Linked DNA regions of Homo sapiens: region 2 is linked to region 1. Evidence: promoter capture Hi-C in 16 types of primary human blood cells and fetal thymus (Javierre and others, 2016). All regions are on one chromosome and are shown on one strand. The core of a region is centred on a gene start or on the middle of the fragment in contact, and the rest is flanking DNA. Distances in the headings are between cores, read along the strand shown.

Region 1 (4,993 bases), core at 1,306-3,805:
TTCCTGAAAATCTACGGATGTTAGCAAAGAATCATTTTTCTCACAGCTCTCCTGGCTGATGAGCATGTCTACATAGTTGGGCTGGGGGAAGATCAGGTGACTCTTCCGAGAGTCCGCGGTGAGGGAGACCTCATGGGAATAGGTCTGCAGGAAAGCCTGCACCCCGTCCATGCCCACAAAGTGCGAGGTGGGCACGTTCGCCAAGCCACCTTCTGAAGCCTGCAGCAGGCGTGACTTGTGCCAGCGCCGCAGCCTGAGCGCCAGCAGTACGAGGACGAAGGCTAGGAAGACGCAGGAGACTGTGGCCACCGCCACCACCAGGTACAACGTGAGGTCATAGTTGTAAGGACCGTCGGAGGGCTCAAGGCTGCCCAGGTCGGCCAAGACTTCGGGGATGCTGTCAGCCACAGCCACGGTGAGTGTGACGGTGGCTGACAGAGGAGGCTGACCGTGGTCCTGGACGGCCACCACGAGGCTCTGCTTGAGGGCATCTCTGTCCAGCAGGGCCCGAGCCGTGCGCACCTCGCCCGTGTACAGCCCAACCGCAAAGAGTCCTGGCTCGCTGGCCTTAAGCAGGAGGTATGACAGCCAGGCGTTCTGGCCTGAATCTTTGTCCACCGCCACCACCTTGGTCACCAGGTAGCCGGGCTCTGCGGAGCGGGGTGCCAGCTCCATGCCAGTAGAACCATCTGTGGGGAGGGCCGGGTACAGGATCTCGGGCGGGTTGTCATTCTGGTCCAGCACGAACAGGCTCAGTGACATGTTGCTGCTGAGAGGCGGGTCCCCGCTGTCATGTGCAGTCACTCTTAGTTGTAGTTCTCTCAACTGCTCATAATCAAAGGATTGCAGCGCGTACAGGACTCCAGTGTCAGAGTTTATGGAGACATAGGAGGACACTGGAGCCCCCTGGATGGTGTCTTCGGCCAAGGAATAAGTGATCTGGGCATTATCCTCACTGTCGTGGTCCTGTGCAGTCACTAAGAAAATGGAGGCCCCTCTGGGGTTGTTCTCAGCGATGTAGACTGAGTAGGATGAGTGGGGGAAGGTGGGTGGGTTATCGTTGGTGTCTGCCACCTGCATGAATATGTGAGTTTCCCTGGACAAGGGAGGAGTTCCACCATCTGTGGCTTTCAGTGTGATGTTATACAAAGAGAGTGTTTCCCGGTCCAAGTTTTTGGTTGTGACCAATCTATAATAATTATCTATTGATTTTTCTAATTTAAAAGGTAGGTTTTCTGGAATGGTGCAGGTCACCTCACCATTCTTTCCAGAATCTCTGTCTTGTAGGTAGAAAAGAGCAATGACTGTCCCAAGAGGTGTGTCTTCAGGGATTGAGCTACTTAAAGACGTCATAGTCACTTCTGGAGCATTATCATTTACATCTAAAACTGTGATCAGTACTTTTGCCTTTGTCAGACTACCAGGACCATCTTGAGCCTGAACCTCCATTTCATAGAAGGCAGTTTCTTCATAATCTAATCCTTCTAAAGTTGATATTTCTCCTGTAAGCGAGTTCAGATGAAACATCTTTGGAAGTTTAGGAGTTATTTTCCGAAAAGAATATGTCACTTCCCCATTGACTCCCTCGTCCAGGTCGATAGCATGTACCGTGAGCAGTCTTGTACCCACTGGCACATTCTCGGGGACAGTTACTTGGTACTGAGGCAGAGAGAAGACAGGCGTGTGGTCATTCACATCCACCACTGTCACCTGGATGTGGGCGGTGCTGGATCGGGGCGGGTCGCCGCCATCAGAGGCTGTGAGGACCAGGTGGTGAACCCGCTCTTCCTCCCGGTCCAGCACCCGCTCCAGCACCAGTTCCGGGTACTTAGTTTCATCGTCTCCACTTTGCACAGCCAGGGAGAAGTGGCGATTGGGGCTGAGCTGGTAACTCTGGAGGGAGTTCGTGCCCACATCTGGATCCCCAGCCTCGCTTAACGGAAACCGAACCCCAGGAGCTGTATTCTCCATTATTTTTACATTTATTTCTTCCGTCAAGAATCTTGGAACGTTGTCATTAATATCTATTATTTCCACGTCTATAGGGTAAAGATTCATTTTATCTTCCATCAGGATGTTAAAGTTTACCAGACACCGCGCACTCTGAGCGCAGATCTCTTCCCGGTCTATCCTGCCCGCAGTGACCAAGCTGCCGCTGCGCTGGTTCAGGGCGAAAAGCTGCGTCCTACCTCTGGAGATGATGCGGACTCCGCGCTCCGCCAGCTCCCGGGGCTCCAGCCCCAGGTCCTTGGCGATGTCTCCCACAAAGGACCCTTTGTCCGTCTCCTCCGACACGGAGTAGAGAATACGTCCTGCCCAGGCTTCCCAGGGGGTCCCCAGGAGGATGGAGAGCAGGAAGAATCCTCTGTAGTCCCCGCCCCTCGGCTGAGCCGCCATAGTCGTCCTGCTTCTCTTGCTTAGGCGCCGATCTCGGGAAGTGCTTCAGAATGCGGGTGTATCCGGGTGGACCCCTCTGTCTTAGGAAGGGGAGCTCAGAATCCAGCAGGATAGAGGCTTGAGTTTAGTGCAGCCTGGAAGAGGGCTTATCGCAATCTGTCGTTTCTCTGTGCTGTAAAACTCGGTGGTTTCTGTGGGATCTCTCGCACCATTTTTCCCTGGTTGGTGAACAGCGGCGCTGTGAGTCCTTACTAAGTTACTGCACCACATTGATGCACACAATACACTGATTTCATAGAAAATTGTTTCATCTTTCAAAATTTCCCTGTTAGATTTCTTTGCTCTAGATATCCCTGATAATTAAAAATCCATTTTAAGACACTGAATTAATGCAACAGTGTTCATGGACCGGTGTTTGATAATCTTAGATAATTTTTAAAAAACTGCTTTGCCTTGCAACTTTCAAGTGACTCTTTTGGGCACTGACTCACACGTTATTGCACATGGGAAAATCAGTTATTGAAGGCAAAAAGGTAAATTTTATTTAAATACATATGAAAGATTTTACTTAGAAAATATTTACATCAGTGTATATAAATTTTAATTAATTCAGTATTAATTGAACACATATGTTCTAGACACCATGATGCAAGATTCAGAAAGTCAAAATTGTTGTAAAATATATAGACCTATTTTAATAAATTTTTGATTGTATAGAACCTTAGAGACGGTCTAACACCTTCATTTTAACCGTTTAAAAAATGAGAGGGGGGGCCAGGTGCTGTTGCTCACGCCTGTAATCCCACACTTTGTGAGGCCGAGGCGGGCGGATCACCTGAGGTCGGGAGCTTGAGACCAGCCTGACCAACATGGAGAAACCCCGTCTCTACTAAAAATACAAAATTATCCGGGCGTGGTGGCGCGCGCCTGTAATCCCAGCTACTCAGGAGGCTGAGGCAGGAAAATCGCTTGAACCCGGGAGGTGGAGGTTGTGGTGAGCCGAGATCACACCATTGCACTCCAGCCTGGACAACAAGAGCAAAACTCTGCCAAAAAAAAAAAAAAAAAAAAAAGAAGAAGAAAGAAAGAAAGAAAGAAAGAGGGAATTGCCTTGCCTTGTTCCTGATTATTGATTATATAGTAGTAGAACAATGTCGGAATCCAAATATTCTCACTCCCAGTCTTGTGAGAAAAAAAGAAAGAAATCGTTGTTTGTCTTGGCTGCAGCAATCAGCTATAGAAGCAACCCATTTTCTACAGAAGGCAGAAATCTGCAGAGATCCTACTGGGCTGTGAATTCATAAGAAACTGGATAATGGATTGGCTGATTCTTTTCATTATGCAATTCAATTCAAGTCTTCATCCTAGTATGCAATTCAAATCTTCATCCTACTCTATTCTAGTGTAATTGAGAAAACAGGGATCTCTAGACAGCATTTGAGCAAAATGCAGGACTGTCCTGACAGGATCCTTAGAGGTACTCGTCTCTCCACTGATGTTGATAGAGTAAAACTAAATTATTGATGGATCCGAGGCTACCCTCTGCTAGCAGAAAGAAAAGAAAGCTCCTTTCACATAGTTGCAGAATAAAAGAGAATGACCTGCTCTGGAATAAAGACCTGGCAAGAAACAGTCTTGGTTTGTAAATTCTTCTAGGTCCTGGAGAGTAGTTGGTGGAACCAGGAGGAGAATCCAGAACTAACACTAAGAAAGCTTAACTTCGTTTTGTGGGAGGCTCCTAAGTAACCTATTTCTGCTTTCTGGTGGCATTGCTCCAGAATACAGGGAACACTTTGAAGGACATTCTGTTTTGATCTATCAAAATAATCCATAGTTATCTTTGCATTCACAAAGTAGATAAATTTTGTTTAAAGGAACTAATAGAGGTATTATAGATGAATTCTGTAAACTGGAGTTAAATTCTATTTGTTTAATAGTACTTTTGAACTTCTTGTTGAGGCAAGCAAAGTGTATGATTATTAAACAATGTAAGCACTTGTAGATATTTTCAAACAAACTTTCATGTTTGGAGGTTATAGCTCTCAATGTCTTGATCCATTTTTACCTGATGCCTCAAAATTCATAGTTTCATCTCACATTTGTTTCTTATTCTACTGTTTTAAAAAAGTCTCAATTAATTTATAGTGTCTTGGTACCTTCTTTGGAGAAAAGGAAATAAGAGCTAGTTAAATTAAATTATAGACTACTCCGAACACAAAGCATACATACCCTATGGAGTAAATGGCTTCATTGTCTCTAGCATTCACATTTTCTAAGTTATCGAACATCATAAAATTAAATATTAAAGATCTTTACTAGACCGCCAAGATATGTTTAATAAAATCTAACATAAGCTCATTGTATCAAATTGAAATCATTTCATAGTTTAAAGAGTGTATATTATTGTTGACTGAGATATTGGGAAGAATCCTGACCATTTGTTTGGTTGCATTAAAAAGAATTCTATGTAAAGTCTATTTGGCTTCCTGGGCATCGAATTGATTATCTTCTCTCTTTTCTTTTTTGGGACTTTTTTTTCTAAAAAACAAACAACAAAACAGTTCTTTGAAGTTCCATTTAGATTTTCATTCTCAAG
Region 2 (4,993 bases), core at 1,303-3,802, 110 kb after region 1:
ATTCAAATTTTGCCAATTGTTCCACTAATGTCCTTTTTCCGGTCTAGGAATCGGTCATTAACTTCTCCTTAACTTCTTCCAATCTAGGACAATTTTCCAGTCTTTCTTTAGCTTCTATGACCTTAACACTTTTTAAGAGTGCTGGCAAGCTATTGGTTAAATGTCTCTTAATTTGGGTTTGTCTGATATTTCCTTATGACTAAATTTTGGTAGTACATTTTTGGCAAGAATAATACAGAAATGATGTGCAGTCGTCATATCAGGAGATATGTCAGGTTAATGTTTCATACTGGAGATGTTAACTTTGGTTATTTGATAAAGAGTTTGTCTCCACTGTAAAGTTACTGTTTGCCGTCTGTAATTAATAAATATTATAACAATATCTTTGTAATTAACAAGTATCATATGAGGAACTGCTTGGAGAATGATCTATTTCTTAACAGGATAATAGTTATTTACTGAAAAGGTAGGACTATGTTCCAAATCCCAGAGGCCCACGCTGTAATTCTCTTGTTAGGGAATGTCTTGGGCTTCATATAACATTCTGCTATAGTAGACACTTTAAACATAATTTATTTTTTCAGACAGCGTCTTGCTCTGTCGCCCAGGTTGGAGTTCAGTGGTGTGATACCGGCTCACTGCAACCTCTGCCTCCTGGGTTCAAGCAATTCTCGTGCTTCAGCCTTCCGAGTTGCTGGGATTACAGGCCTGTGCCACCACACCTGTCTAATTTTTTTTATTTTTAGTAGAGATGGGGTTTCACTATGTTGGCCAGGCTATTCTCAAACTCCTGACCTCAAGTGATCCACCTGCCTCGGCCTCCGAAAGTGCTGGGATTACAGGCATGAGCCACTGCGCCCAGCGTTAAACATAATTTTATCTGCTGAGTCATAACTCCCAAGTGGTGTTCCTGTTCTTAATGCATTCTGGAGTACCTGTAGAGCCTTCTTTGATTTGGAGTTCAGTTTAAAGCTGGCAGCCTTAACAGTGACTCAGCAAAAAGATCAGAGAAGGATGCCAAAAGATAACATGTTGCCTCCAAAATCAAGAGGCTCACCAAGTTTGCCTTTTTCTTCATGGTAGGGAGTGTAGGAAGGGCAGCAGCAACTTGTTTTTCACTTTCTTGGAAATATCTTAACATGCCCTAGATTTCTGAATCCCCCAAAACTTCAGAGAGGACAGTTCCTTAAATTGTTGTGGGGCTTACTTATCTCCTCTTCTGCCATACATACGTCTTACGAAGGCATCTAGGGCACATGTTACTTGCTATTGAAGAGGTACAATCAGCATGATCCCATTAGCGTGCTGGAAAAATGTGATGTCCTATGGGATGGTGAGATAATTAGAACCTTGTATGACTCTCAGAGGAGCAGGAGCACCCCTAACATTTGTGATACCTAGGGCAAGAATAAAAATAGAGATTTATTTTCCCAGCTACTCGGGAGGCTGAGGCAGGAGAATGGCGTGAACCCGGGAGGCGGAGCTTGCAGTGAGCCGAGATAGCGCCATTGCAGTCCGGCCTGGGCGAAACGAAAGAGCCAGACTCCGTCTCAAAAAAAAAAAAGAAAAAAGAAAAAAAAATAGAGATTTATTTTCCTGAGTCTTTGTTTTTTTTTTTTGTTTTTGTTTTTTTTTCCTCTACACTATTGAAACTGTGCCCCAAAGAGTTAAAGAAACCAGTAACTAACAGAAATTCTTGAGTTTTCATAATGGCAGATAAGAAACAACTTGCTGAAACACTGAGACTCCCTCTGCTTAAAAGAAATGAACTGGCTGAAATCGGTTGTAACCTAGATAGATAAATGGAGTTTGCACAGAATGAGCTTGCTGAGATCGCAGCCTGAGTTTCCACCACAGGTTTCATACTAACTCCCCCGAATTCGCACAAAGACCCTTGCGGAGGCATGAAGAGGTAAGTGCACATGCCCAAGGACTTCCCATGCCTCCCCTTTCCTTCCGCTAATCACCGCTCTCAGAATCTGCCCCCTAAATCTTTTCTTTTTCTTTTCTTCCTTTGTTTCTTTTTTTTTTTTTTTTTTTGAGACGGAGTCTTACTCAATCGCCCAGGCTGGAGTGCCGTGGTGTGATCTCCGCCCATTGCAACCTCCACCTCCCGGGTTCAAGTGATTCTCCTGCCTCAGCCTCCTGAGTAGCTGGGATTACAGGCGCACGCCACCACGCCTGGCTAATTTTTGTATTTTTAGTAGAGGCAGGGTTTCACCATGTTGGCCAGGCTGGTCTCAAACTCCTAACCTTAGGTAATCCACCCGCCTCGGCCTCCCAAAGTGTTGGGATTACAGGCGTGAGCCACCACGCCCAGCCCCGTAAAGCATTTCTAACAAAATTACTGCCTGAAAGCCAGCATGGGAAGACACTTGACGTTTACTCCTGTCTCCTTGGGAATCCATTTTCTTTCCTTTGTGTGTTTGTTGCTATAACAAAGACTTTCAATATAAAGCTTTTCTTTTCTCAAAAATGCAGTGTCATATTATTGGCTTCTAGCATATCAGGTAGTGAGTCCCTTTTGCTGGATAACATTATCCTAAGGCATTATTAGCATCTTAATTTCCTTTGTTAAATTGTGGCTGTCATTGAATTGAGTCAGCTGACCAAAAGAACTATTAGAGATAATCATGTGAAAGCTTGAACACTGAATTCAGAATCTCTGGCAAACGAACCCACCTAAATTCAACTCAATCTAAAGGTTTTTTCTTTGTTTTCTGTTATAGCATACTCAGTTCTCAAACATATTCCTAAGGTTTCTGTGATGTAGTTAGCAAAATTATGCAATTCTTTCAGTATATATGCCTTCTAATATTGGGACTGGCTTTGTGCTTGTCCCCATTGAACATGCTAGGATATGAATCTAATTAGAGGTCTAGAGGCAATGAGAGTTGGCAAATGAAGGGCATGGAGAAAATTAGCAACCCTTTGCAATGTAACTGTCTCAGCTGAGGTCATTACAGACTATGCATGCAAAGAGGACAGTCTTATTAAAAAGGAAAATGAGTTTGCTTCTGCTGGGATAAAAAAGGGCTCAATTGGTTTGGGGATTCAAGATACAATCACATCTGAATTCACCTAGCTGTCCCCATTCCCATTCTAAGGATACTACTCTTTCTGGATCAATGCTCTAGCAATTTCATTAAAAAACATGCAGTGGTTGTGAATTCAACTTTGTAATTATTTATCAACCTGAAGAATCAGACTTTTTGTCTGATTTTTATCTATGTAGTCCTGTAGCCGTGGGATAAAAGAGATGTTTTTAAAGCAATCATTAAAATATTTGATTTTCATATCTTTCCTGACCCAAGAATTTTAAAACCCTAAGTTCGTTATTTTCTTTAATTGAATTCTCGATTGCAGTCAAAAGTAATCACCACATCCCCTGAACCTTTCTCTTCCCCACCATAATGCTTTGGTACACCAGCCACTTTGCTTACCAGAGAATTACCTTCAATAAGCAATTAATTCCAGACAAACACAAGTGATAACCTGAGTAAATGTTTTGCTGTTGCTTACCAGGGACTACCAATATCTTATTTTCTAGAGGATATGGGACTATCATTGCCTTTGATCTATCTAGGTCATATAATCTATCCTAAATTTCATTCTTCGGTGTTTGTTGCCTGCAAATTCTGGTACAAAATATATTTTTGGGGCTCAGGGCACATAACAAAAACAACTCTAATCAGTTTAAGCAGAAAAATATTTAACAGAGATAATTAGATTTTTATAGCATCATTGGAATGTGTGGATAAGTGGAACTCAGGAACTATTGAGTTCCAAGAACAACTTGCTACACCTGTGACCCAGGGTTAGTAGGCCACTTCTACTGTTGCTACCACCTCTCAATACCCACACAGTTGCTCCTAGATACAGGAACACTCAATCTGGCTGTTGCTCCTGGTGACACTGGAATGCTGAACCTTCCTTCCACAGCTACTTCTCAACCCTTTGCTTGTACAACCAAATGCAGCAGTATAGCAGATGCTATTGATGCCTGTCCTATATTCCCTTGGCCCACCTCAGAGTTTACCTGCAGTTCAATGAAAACTTTTTAGCAAGCTTACAGCAGCTTCTCTTGTGATATGGTTTGGCTGTGTCCCCACTCAAATCTCATCTTGAATTGTACTCCCATAATTCCCACGTGTTGTGGGAGGGACCTGGTGGGAGATAATTGAATCATGAGGGCAGTTTCCCTCCTACTGTTCTGGTCGTAGTGAATAAGTCTCATGAGATCTGATGGTTTTATCAGGGATTTCCACTTTTGCATCTCTCTCATTTTCTCTTGCCGCTGCCATGTAGGAAGTGCATTTCACCTACTGCCATGATTCTGAGGCCTCCCTAGCCATGTGGAACTGTAAGTCCAATTAAACCTCTTTTGCTCCCTAGTTTCAGGTATGTCTTTATCAACAGTGTGAAAATTGACTAATACATCATGTCAAGCACTTTTGTCTTTCTACTTCTCTTCCTGGGAGGGATTTCTCTGATGCCATAGGAGCTTGCTCTGCCCATTCACATTGCAATCTGGAATTTCCAGAAATTTAATGCCCTTAGGGTTAACACTCAATGAAAGATGGAAGGTGAGATCAGTCTACCACTAACTTTCTGGTTCTTTGATGGGACAATTCTACAGTATGTTCCACACAGTTCCTCATAGAGTTCCCTAGCAAGATTGAGGCCCATGTATTCACAATGGTAATCTGCTTATTAAAATAATAATTTTTAATTTATTGATGTTTCTCCCTTCTTTTTCTCAGTTTCCACACTTCCTCACTGGTGCTTCTCTAGATAACTTTTTAAATAAATTAATTGCACCTAAGTCCTTGTCTCTAGGTCTGCTTTTGGGAGAACTCAACAAAGATAGCAACTTAGAAAGCAAATTCTAAGGATGGGATTCTGAACTTGAATTACTTGCTGGTCACATGGCAGCAATCCAATTCTGGTAGAAAGTGGGGTTGTGATAATCCCTGTCATGCTGTAGCATCCC

Evidence for each region. Contacts are between HindIII fragments. The CHiCAGO score rates a contact against its expected background, and 5 or more counts as called.
Region 2: a fragment that was not itself captured here is called in contact with the fragment with the promoter of PCDHGA7 in region 1 in 1 of 17 cell types (total CD8 T cells); the score reaches 5.2 in total CD8 T cells.

What each region holds. Positions count from the first base shown.
Region 1 is chr5:141,380,304-141,385,296 of GRCh38, reverse strand. It overlaps PCDHGA7 (protocadherin gamma subfamily A, 7), which reads right to left and starts at 2,555. Exons shown (of 4, transcript NM_018920.4): 1 at 1-2,555. The coding sequence starts at 2,397. All of the region lies in intron 1 of PCDHGA1 (protocadherin gamma subfamily A, 1), which reads right to left. The region is part of intron 1 of PCDHGA2 (protocadherin gamma subfamily A, 2); the gene reads right to left. All of the region lies in intron 1 of PCDHGA3 (protocadherin gamma subfamily A, 3), which reads right to left. It also overlaps PCDHGB1, PCDHGA4, PCDHGB2, PCDHGA5, PCDHGB3 and PCDHGA6, and 1 more gene. The HindIII fragment of the contact is 6,225 bases long and covers 1-4,112 here.
Region 2 is chr5:141,265,388-141,270,380 of GRCh38, reverse strand. It overlaps LOC105378199 (a long non-coding RNA gene), which reads left to right and starts at 1,623. Exons shown (of 2, transcript XR_001742473.1): 1 at 1,623-1,912. The HindIII fragment of the contact is 184 bases long and covers 2,461-2,644 here.